2 separate regions of the Homo sapiens genome follow, and region 1 is linked to region 2. Evidence: promoter capture Hi-C in human tissues and cell types (Jung and others, 2019). All regions are on one chromosome and are shown on one strand. The core of a region is centred on a gene start or on the middle of the fragment in contact, and the rest is flanking DNA. Distances in the headings are between cores, read along the strand shown. Region 1 has its middle 36 kb from the start of LINC00857. Region 2 holds the start of PLAC9 (placenta associated 9).

Evidence for each region. The method cuts DNA at HindIII sites, captures the fragments that hold promoters and counts their contacts. A contact is called where the count stands out against the background at its distance.
Region 1: a contact is called between a fragment that was not itself captured here and the fragment with the promoter of PLAC9 in region 2, in 2 of the 25 tissues and cell types used here (bladder and spleen).

Annotation. Positions count from the first base shown.
Region 1 is chr10:80,240,836-80,246,604 of GRCh38, forward strand. No RefSeq gene overlaps it. Among named protein-coding and RNA genes, the nearest start is that of LINC00857, 36 kb to the left of the region's middle. The HindIII fragment of the contact is 7,440 bases long and covers 1-5,769 here.
Region 2 is chr10:80,131,069-80,136,849 of GRCh38, forward strand. It overlaps PLAC9 (placenta associated 9), which reads left to right and starts at 1,662. Exons shown (of 4, transcript NM_001012973.3): 1 at 1,662-1,758. The coding sequence starts at 1,695. The HindIII fragment of the contact is 8,390 bases long and covers 1-5,781 here.

The DNA of each region.
Region 1 (5,769 bases), core at 1,511-4,010, 110 kb after region 2:
TACATTTTGAATTTATTTTCTCCCCCAATACTTGTAAATCTAGTGCTTGTAAAATAGTATGTGTGCCTTTTGTGGTGGTGGCCATACATTCCAGAACATTTATATTGTTTTCCATGCAGATTTCCAAGGTTGCTACTGATTGCTTTAGGTGCAATGCTCTAAAATATGAAGGTGAACTCTTGTTACTGGTTATTTGGTGGGCTTTTTTTGATGGGGAGGATGGAGTCTCGCTCTGTCGCTAGGCTGGAGTGCAGTGGAGCCATCTCGGCTCACTGCAACTTTCGCCTCCCGGGTTCAAGTGATTCTCCTGCCTCAGTCTCCCTAGTAGCTGGGACTACAGGTGTATGCCATCATGCTCAGCTAATTTTTGTATTTTTAGTACAGACGGGGTTTCACCATGTTGGCCAGGATGGTCTCGATCTATTGACCTCGTGATCCTCCCGCCTCGGCCTCCCAAAGTGCTGGGATTACAGGCGTGAGCTACTGTGCCTGGCCGGTGTTGTATTTTTAACTAAATTCAATTCTCACAGTTTTAATCATAATTCCAAAAAGACTTTGTTATGCAAATTCTTTTTGACTTTGAAAATCTGACATGACGTGCGCTGTGTCAGCAGCAAAGTGAACACTGATTTTAGAAACTTGGGCTAAACAACCATCTGTGATTATTTTTGTTGGAATATAACCCAGGTATTATTATTATAGCAGCTGTCCACTCTCGGTTTTGCATAGATATAAACATATCTTTATGTCATATTTTCATCTATAACTTTAAGACTTTTTTCTTATATTTTTCTCATTCTTCCATCATACAGTGTGGACTCTTTTTTTATATATTACAAATAATGTAACACAAATTTCTAAATATTTATTTATTTATTGTTTTGAGACGGAGTTTCCTCTTGTTGCCCAGGCTGGAGTGCAGCTGGGTGGTCTTGGCTCACCACAACCTGTGCCTCCTGGGTTCAAGCGATTCTTCTTCCTCAGCCTCCTCAGCCTCCCAATTAGCTGGGATTACAGGCACCTGCCACCATACCCAGAGAATTTTTGTTTTAGTAGAGATGGGGTTTCTCCATGTTGGCCAGGCTGGTCACAAACTCTTGACCTCAGGTAATCCACCTGCCTCAGCCTCCCAAAGTGCTGAGATTACAGGCATGAGCCACTGCACCCACCCTCCACCTTGGTTATTTTTAAGCACTAAAATTTGATACTTATTTCTGAATGAAGTCATCTCTTAATTGTATTTTTTTACTTATATTCTTTAAATTGCAAAGATTCATGTAATTCAAGAAAGAAGTGGGATCCAGAGAGATTCCTTTATCATGTGATACATGACAAATACATTCAATGTTATATTTCAATCTAAAAAATAAGTAAATGACTTTAAAGATAATCACTTTATACCTAGTTTGTCCAACCCATGGGTGGCAGAGTGTATTCAACCCGGGACAGCTTTTCTGAATGCAGCCCAACACAAATTTCTAAACTTTCTTCAAACATTCTGAGATTTTTTTGTGATTTTTTTTCCTCATCAGTTATTGTTAGTGTACTTTATGTGTGGCACAAGACAATTCTCCTTCTAATATAGCCCAGGGAAGCCAAAAGACTGGACATGCCTGCTTCAGACCAAGAAAAAAGACAGCCCACATTTGCACGCCTAAATACACTACCATCCATGCAAGAAACATGAGACTGGAAATTTCCAATCTTTCCTGAAGCAGTGGAATTGCCCGGGGATATCTGAGGGGTGTGGTTACTTCTTGGAGGAGGTTAAGGGTTTCTAAGGATGATCCTTTGTAACTGAAATATTGTAAATGTCATTGAGCCTTCTCATTATGTCAACTAGTAGTATTCCATATCGTCAATTTTCTGCCTGGGCATTTTCATCCCGGGCCTGACTTTTTTGGAATTCCTTGGATGCTTATCATTATTGTTGTGTCCCTGGGAATTTACAAACTTGCCATTTTCTTCTGCAAAACTAGCCTTGGTGTGAGTACACTAACTTTCCCTAGAGGTGGACTTGTAATCACAAATAAGAAATTATTTAAAACAATTTGTGGTTCTGGACTTCATTATGAATATTGGGTTTTATTTAAAAAATCAGGAAATGATTTATTAGCATAAGAATTATGAAAAATCTGCCATTTAAATTATGGCAGATTTTTTAAATTTTTTTAAATTTTTAATTCAACCTATTTAATTAAAAAATTAAATAGGTTTGTGTTTGTTTAATAGAATGTCAACAGAGCTTTTGGTCAAAAATACGTTTTTTTAAGCCCTCTGCTCTTTATCAAAAACTGAAGTATAAAGTTTCAGCACTTAAATAAGAAATTCTTTCTAAACTTTTCTGCTTTATAGTTCTATTGTATGGGTGGAAGGAAAGCTTCCACTCTCCTCTCTAAAGGTTCACTGCAGCAATGTACTAACAACAGACAGCTTAACAGGAGAAGGAAAACATAGAACCTTATTAACAGGCATAAACATGGGAGCCAGCCAAAAAATGAGACTGCAAGAAGGGCCAGATGATTGATGCTTAATGAGCACCCTCTTCTCAGGGAAAAGGGAGATGGAGATGAAGGCAGGGCAGCAAATGATTATTAGGGGAAATGAAAGAGCCCAAGGAACAAACAGCTGGCCTGAGACAAAGTTCCTCTGAGATCATGAGGAAGAGGCGACAAACTGCAGGAAGGTCAAGGGCAGAACTGCACTGTGTCTCATGATGCAGAGAAAGCCCCAGAGAATCTCTTGGAACTGCCCTCCGAAGAATCAATGAAAAGTGTGTCTGGGCAGAGTAATGAGTGGTCATTTCAAATGGCATCATTCAAAGTACATGTTCTCGGTTGCCACTGGAGAGGGATCGGTATGTCAAAAGTCTGTACTGGTTAAGAATGTGGCTGCTAAATTGTGCCATAATTTGGCTTTTGAGCATTTTTGTCCATTGAGTAAATCGAGCTCTACGTTTTCTCTTGCTGTTCATGACAGTAAAAGTTTGGGTGTCTAGGGGCTTAAACATCTTCTGAACAATGATCCAAGAAAAAAGTGCTAACACCACAATGCTTTTTTATCCTCAAGGGAAGGGGGAGTATGTTTTATTTTTACAACCTAGATAATTACACATCATTTGGCACTGCCCTTCAACATACGTAGAAAACAGAAAATATATGAGTTCTGAAGATATCTAGGCACATTGAACAGTCTCTACTCAACTTAGTCCTGAAGAGAGAATTTTTGATGTGAACTGGGGGAAGTTTTTTAATGTACCACTTTTTAAATATTCCATTAAGAAAAGTTCAGTTGAGCTGTTTGACTTGAACCACTTTGCACCTTCTCATCTTTCTCCTTGTTATCTACTCCTCTATCCCATTATCTCACAAACCAGGACATCGTGAGTGCCATGAAATGTTCATGCCTCACGGTTTTTCTTTGCTTCTCATTTCTTCATGTGTTTGACATTTCTCCTAGCTGCAAACTGGGCCAGCTGCTTTCCCCATAAAATCTAGCGGTAGCTGTGGGGCGCATGCGGTTGCTCTTTCATCTTTTTAGATCACCCATTGCTTCTATCGAAATCCTAGTACATGTTTTTTTGGGTTTTTTTTTCTATCCTATGTGAAGAAATCAGAAAAAAAAGCATTCTACACAGAACTTTAAAGATGTTATTTCATTGAATACATCAGGAATTTCAGAGGTATATGACGTACATTTGCAACAGGATTTGCATTGCATATTAGCCAAGAAGAGAACAAATATTTCATGTCTTAGAAGATTCAACTCATATGCGGTCTATATGGAATTCTTTGTGGGAATTCAGTCATTACTGAGAATGTTTTGTGTTAGGTTCCAACCAGCCTCAGTGAAGCTGGTGTCAGGGAAGGGAAAGTGGGCTCTGAGTAGAGCATGGATGGAAAAAAGATGCTCCACAGAAGATCAGGAAGGAGCAGGGGGTGAAATGTTACAAATTCTTGAACTCAGAGAACTGAAGGTAGTTGCTTTCCTTTCAACCTGTGAAACATTTTAACCTGCGGTAAAATATGTATAACGTGATAATTACCATCTTAACCTTGTTGAAATGTACAGTTCAGTTGTGTGAAATATATTCACATCATTGTTCAATTATTGTTTTCTAGATGTCTTATCTCAAGTCTGTCTTACAGTCACAAAATGTCAATGACAGAACACGGATTTACAGGGGAAAGCCTGCAGGTCCAATAGCCGTAGCCAGGAAGGTATGCTATCTGTCAGAGTCCCCATAGTGTGGAAATGAGTTTGCCCTTTTAAGGGAAAGAACAGCTTCTGGCCCTCAGGTTTCTCCCCGTCTCCTCTCTACACCCTAACCAAGGGCTCAGGTCCACTTATATGCACACGAATAGAAGGATTTTATCCTTTGCAGGAATTAAAATGGACCCAAAATACCTCTTTACATTATGGAGATCTACAGAAGCTAAAGTGCAAGCCAAAGTCCAAAAGGTGATGATGAAGGTCAACAGTCATTGCGAAATCTCTGGGCAAAGAAAGACTGCCGAGGAAGAGTAAGATGTTCACTGACACAAACACTGTTGTATGAACCATGTGCCAACCAAAGTAGACAACTGCAATGTCCCCGAGAATATTTTCCACAATATTTGTGGCAAATTCAGTGGGTGCAAAACTGAGCTTGTCCTTCCTGCTTGATTAATCTTCGTGTTTCCTTTCCCTTCCTACATTCTTGATTGTAATGTTTTAGGGGCAAGCGGAGGTCCAGGTACTGGCATTGTTAAATTCAATGCTTGGGTCACCTCGGGATTCATTTTCACAGTCTTTTAGCTTTTGGTCATATGACATTGTATTTTTCCTGCCACATGACTAGTCTTTTTGGCTAAATGTAAGACACTCGTTAAAAATATTTAGCAATGAATTGAGGCCGACTAGCATGTTATCTTGCTGCAGAAAAGATGGGAGTCTATTTCTGGGGAATGGGCAGGGGTCCTAGCACACCTAGACACCCTCCATACCATCCGCAATTGAGGTTATCAGTGAGGTTCAGTCCCTACAAAAGTCAGGGTGTTTCCTGTCCACCTCTATTCCTGGCGTGTGACTCTTCTGGGTCCCAACCAAAGCCAGTGGACTTCAGTAGGGGTCACCGTCACTAGCAGACCCTCAGTCTACTTGTTTTCCATCTAGTCCTCCACATGGTGCAAAAGCTGCTCTGCTTCTTTACATCTCAGTTAGTCCCTTCTGAAATTCAGTGATGAAACTGAGGGAAATGAGCCCCAAATGTGAGGCTGACCTTCGTCCTGGGTTCCTTCTTCTCCATCTTGGCCTCATGTCTCTTTATTGCCATTTTAGCAATTTGGTGCTTTCAGTCATGGGTTTTAGATTCTGCCCCATGTCCCCATTGCTCTCATGGGAGATCAGAAGCTTCACATGCACTCATGTCTACTCCAGAGCAGAATGCTTCCTTAGCTTCCCTCCAGGCTCAGGTTTTGTGTTTCTAGTTCCCAAGTTCACAGCAGGAGTAGTGATGTCCTCACTGGCTTCTCATTTGCGTTAAACTGTGAACTCCTTTAGGGTGGGGACAGGACCCTGCTCCCATTGCATCCTCTGCACCTCACAAGACACTCCTTGCTTCAGGCCACTCCAGACACCGTGTGCTGAAGGGTGCCCTGGGTGGTCAGAAACAAGTGCATGAACTTTCTCTTTGAAGTGTTTTTGTCCCTGTTTCCTAGAGTTCTTGGCATTTTACACGTCTTTCTTTCTTTCTTTTTTTTTCATATTAAACTTGTAGTTTTATTCAGG
Region 2 (5,781 bases), core at 412-2,911:
TGATCCACCCACCTCGGCCTACCAAAGTGCTGGGATTACAGGCGTGAGCCACTGCACCCAGCCAAGATTTAATGTTATGACTGAGATAAACATGAATGAAAGCAAATCTTCAAAATATCTATGACTTGATCTCATGTATATACATTTGTGTCTGAATATACATTAGGTAGATGGGGAATGCATAGACGTGGAACAGGCAGAGCCTACCAAGTTGAGGGGACTGGACCTGAATCATTGGACGGAGGGAATTCGTAACAGAAAAGACTTTCATGTTTTACTCTGTATACTTAATTACTTTATGCTCTACCGCAACAATAATGTATTGTATATGTTTTTGTGTGTGTGTGTGTTTTCTTAGTCTTAAATTCAAAATATAAGGTAGCCCACTGGCTCTAAGCTACAAGAATCCTTATGAGTTGGGCAGTTCTTTGACAACTTTTTTTCCCACCTGGCGAAACTATCAAGGAATGTCCTACCACCAAGCGTGAGAAATTTTTGGCATTCCTGAAATAAATTCTTCTTCTGAGCCAGCTCATGTGGGCATCATAATCTCCTTGAAGGCTTTTAAAAGATTTAGATCTGAGTCTGTCTCAGATTCTCGGGCTCAGAACCAGAATTTCTCCGTCTGAGGCTACTATCTTGCTCTGGAGGAGGGAGTGAGAACTGGATCACTGGTTAGCGTGGTAACTGTTTTGGACAATTGCATAGCCACAGCCAGGAACACAGAAGGCAGAGAGGCAGCCTTGATCTGCAAGAGCTCCAGGTAATCCCAACGGGGACCCTTGATGGACAAAGGCATTCTCCCAGGCTTGGTGATGAATGTGTTCCACTTACAGCCAGACGAGACACTCACTCAGGGCTCTGCAGCAGAGAAGTTAGAGCTACAGCTTTTTTGCTTTGTGTTTTTACTAAAACTTAATTTGTTGTTGCACTTGTTGGATGGGCATGTCCCATAGGGGAAGTTTCCACTACTGTGCTCTAAACTTTGGGCTGCTTGTACCATCTTACTTATCCCCTCATTAATAATGAATTGAATAAAATCTTTAGTATATGCTAATTTCATATCTTTGCGAGAGTTACGATTTTACCTTTTCTTTTTAAAATTACCTTTTCATATTTCTATCACTCCCTTACCAGAGCAGTGAGTTTCTGGGTCTCCCTCTTAGGGGCAGACACTGTTCCATGTAATTAGAATTAATTTCTTGTTCGTAGGTAGACAGAGAAAAGCTGCCAAACTCCCAGGAGACAGGGGTTCAGATCCTGTGCTATGGCTGAGAGTGATGCCGAGGAAGACACTTCCCTCCGAGTCTTAGTCTGCCCGCCTGTGAAACTGGCTCGTAACAAACCCCTGACCCCAGGCTCGGTCGCCTTGAGCCCAAGACCTCACCCAATGCCCCCCGCCCCGCCTTCCCTCCCGGGCTCCCAGGAGGTGCGGGGACTCGGGGGGCGGCCCCTTCCTCGGGAGGCGCCCAGGTGGCACGTCGGTGCCTCAGCTCCCGGGGTCTCTGGGCTCCGCGCTGCCCACGGGGTGCCGAGGGGCCTCTGGAGGGGGCGGGTTCTCTCGAGCCAGAAAGTCCGGAGCCGCCCAGGAATTTTGGCTCGAACTGAGTGCATTTCCTCTCGGGCCGGCCGGGTGCGATCCGGGAAGGGCGGCTGCGGGCAGACGCGGCGCTGCGCTCGGCCAGGCCGGCACCATGCGGCCCCTGCTCTGCGCGCTGACCGGACTGGCCCTGCTCCGCGCCGCGGGCTCTTTGGCCGGTGAGTGGGGCGCAGGGCGCGGCAGGGGACCTGGAGCCGGGGAGACCCGCAGATGGCGAGGAAGGAATGAGCGAGAGAGACGGAGAGAGAGCTGGACACAGCAGCGAGATGGACAGAGAGGCAGATGCAGGGAGGGAGGGATGGAGAGAAAGATTGAGAGGAAACAGACTCAGAAAAAGGCAGAGAAGTAGAGCAACGGAGAGATAAAGGAGATAGGGAAGAATACACAGTGAAAAGGAAAAAGGAGAGGCTGAGACAGAAAGAGGCTTCCCCTGAACAGATATGAACTAAGATAGAAAGAAAAAGGAGTTTGAGAGACAAAAGAGAAGAAGGAAAGAGAAAAAGTGATTAAAATGGCAAGGGGTGGAGGGAGAGAGGATATTGAAGAAAAGAGAAAGATTTGAGAGAGACCAAAAAGGAGAGAGAGGGAAGCTCGATGCCCGGAGTAGAGCTGGCAAGAGAGAAGGAGCCAGGATCTGGAGTGGGAGGTCACAGCTGCTGGGTGGGGCAGCCCCGGAGGCCAGCTCCATCTCAGAGGGCCTGTGGAGGCTCAGGCCTGGCTTTATAGGACATTGCATAAGAAGCCACACTCCAAAGGATGAGTGACCCAGGCTAGCCCAGCACAGCCTTAAGGAACCAGGCAGTCGGGCCCAGGAGAAAGGCCACCGATTCACCTGCCAGGTGGCCTCAGGTGGATCTGCAGTCAGTGAAGAAGTCAGCCTCCCGGTTTCCAGGGAGCTTCTCTGGGAAACTGAGCTATGTTGGGTGGAGATGGGGGACTGGGTGGAGGTGGAGAGCTGTGCGGAGGAGAGAGGCTGTCTGGGTACTCCATTAGCTGGGTTCCTTGCTTTTCACTGTCCGCTTTCTTCCCCTCACCTACCCCTCAGGCGGGCGGATCACAAGCTCAGGAGATCAAGACCAGCCTCGCTAACATGGTGAAATGCTGTCTCTATTAAAAATACAAAAAATTAATCGGGCGTGGTGGCACATGCCTGTAGTCCCAGCTACTCGGCAGGCTGAGGCAGGAGAATCACTTGAACCTGGGAGGCGGAGGTTGCAGTGAGCCGAGATCAAGCCACCGCAATCCAGCCTGGGTGACAGAGCAAGACTCAGTTTCAAAAAAAAAAAAAAAAGAAGAAGGAAAGGAGGAAAGTATTCATGTATTAGTGTAATTTCACACTGATTTCATATATTTTTGTGCATAATCTTTCAGATTTTAGATGATATATCTTAACTTTTGATTATGAAAACTTTTGGATACAAAAAAATACAAAGTAATAGTATGTGAAAGAATCATGTAATATACTTATCAACGCTGCTTCAAGAAGTATCAGTTCATGGGCAGTTTTATCTCATCTATAGCCTCCACCCTCTCTCCCCTCCCTGGATTATTTTAAAGGAAATCCAGGCATTGTATATTTTCTTTCTTTCTTTCTTTCTTTTTTTTTTTTTTTTGAGACAGGATTTCATTCTGTCACCCATGCTAGAATGCAGTGGCACAATCTCAGCTCACTGCAACCTCCGTCTCCCGGGTTCAACTGATTCTCCTGCCTCAGCCTCCTGAGTAGCTGGGACTACAGGCACGCACCACCACACCTGACTAATTTTGGTATTTTTAGTAGAGATAGGGTTTCACCATGTTGGCCAGGCTGGTCTCGAACTCCTGGGCTCAAGTGATCCACCTGCCTTGGCCTCCCAAAGTGCTGGGATTACAGGTGTGAGCCACAATGCCTGGCCTGGCATCATGTATTTTCATCTATAAATATTTCTTTGTGTACCTCTAAGAGATAAGCACTCTTAATAAACATAACTGCAATGCTATGATCATACTCCAAAAACTGTGTGTGATTGAATATCATTAAATATTCAATCACTGTTCAAATGTCCTTGATTGATTGTGTCATATCTTTTTGCAATTCATTTGTTTGATCCAAATAAGGTTACATACACTGCATTTGGTCAATATGTCTGTTAGATCTCTTTAAATATGTAAGTCTTCTCTCCCCTTTTTTTACTTAATTTTTTGTTTTTGTTGAAGAAACTAAGTTTGTCCTGTAAAGTTTTCCACATTTAGATTTTGCTAATTGCATCCCTTTTATGTCATTTAAATACCTCCACCCCTTATATTTTCTATAAATTGAGAGCTATCTCTAGCACGTCCAACTTCCAACCTTGGTTTGTTTGTTTGTTTATTTATTTATTTATTTATTTGAGATGGAGTCTCGCTCTGTCTCCCAGGCTGGAGTGCAGTGGTGCGATCTCCGCTCACTGCAAGCTCCGCCTCCCGGGTTCACACCATTCTCCTGCCTCAGCCTCCCAAGCAGCTGGGACTACGGACGGCTGCAACCATGCCCGGCTAAATTTTTTTTGTATTTTTAGTAGACATGAGGTTTCACTGTGTTAGCCAGGATGGTCTCGATCTCCTGACCTTGTGATTTGCCCGCCTCGGCCTCCCAAAGTGCTGGGATTACAGGTGTGAGCCACTGCGCCCGGCCTTTTTTTTTTTTTTTTTTTTTTGAGACAGAGTCTTGTTTTGTCATCCAGGCTGGAGTGCAGTGGTGCGATCTCAGCTCATCACAACCTCTGCCTCCTGGGTTCAAGCAATTCTCGTGCCTCAGTCTCCCAAGTAGCTGGGATTACAGGTGTGCACCACCACACCCAGCTAATTTTTGCATTTTTTAGTAGAGACGGGGGCTGCGGGGGAGTTTCACCATGTTGGCTAGGCTGGTCTCAAACTCCTGACATCAAGTGATCAGCCTGCCCCGGCCTCCCAAAGTGCTGGGATTACAGGCATGAGCCACCGCGCTGGGCCCAAGTCTTGGTTTCTTTTAGCAGCACTCAGAGAAACCTTTATCCCTGATGGCTTTTTAGACCATGAGCCACCACGCCCGGCCCATATTTTGGAGTTTTTTATAAAATCACTTGAAGAATAGTTTTCTGCTGCTTTCAAAAATGATCAAAACCCGTGGATGGTTTTGAGTGAATCATACATTTTAATACAAATATTGGATGTGGTAAATTTATTATTCTATTATGTTGAATGTGGTCAAATATAATTAACCCCCAAGTGGCCAGGGTTGCTTTTCAAAGCAGAGTGTGACTTTGACAATTCAGAAGATACAGCGGCACCTTTCAGATGCCACTGAGAAAACATTTCTCAACCCCCAGCATGCAGAAATCATCTGTGTTGTGGCCCTTTCTTACTGTTTGGGTCCAGATACAAAAGGTCTCCCCATAAGGCCTGTAAGTAGAAGCACCCGTACTTCCGCCTCAGAGGATGGGACCCAGGGGCCACGTCTCTTTAACTGGGGCAGCCAGCCCAGCCGAGCCCTCCTCTGGGGCCTCCGGGCTCCACAGCAGCGTGTTCTCACCAGCACAGGATGCCCCACCCATGGCCACCATCCAGGGTGCACATCAGGCCCCTAGCAGGAGCCGGGCCAGAGAAAACAACGCAGCATCCAAGGAGGTCCATTTCCCAACTGGCAGGGCCTGGGAGAGCGGGAGGAAAGGAAGGAAGGGAGCCCTGAGGAGCCACAGCCTTGGCTGCTCAGGGTTAATCATCATAATCCTTCAGTCTTTTCCACTCCCCTTGTCTGAGCCACTGACAGCCCTGTGGTGCATGTGCGTGTCTACTATTTTTTATTCATTTATTTATTTTCTTACAAGACACAGTCTTTCACTGTCACCCTGGCTGCAGTGCAGTGGTGCAATCGTAGCTGACTGTAGTCTCAAACTCCTGGGCTCAAGCGATTCTCCCGCCTCAGCTTTCCAAATACCTGAGACTACAAGTATATACCACCAATCCTGGCTAATTTTTTTTTAATTTTTATTTTATTTATTTATTTATTTATTTATTTATTTATTTTTGTAGAGACAGAGTCTCACTATGTTGCCCAGAGTGACCTCAAACTTCTGGCTTCAAGCGATCCTCTTGCCTCAGCCTCCTAAAGCTCTGGGATTACAGGTGTGAACCACCGAGCCCAGCTCGTCTAGCTAATTCTTGAGGCCTCTCTGCAGCCTCCA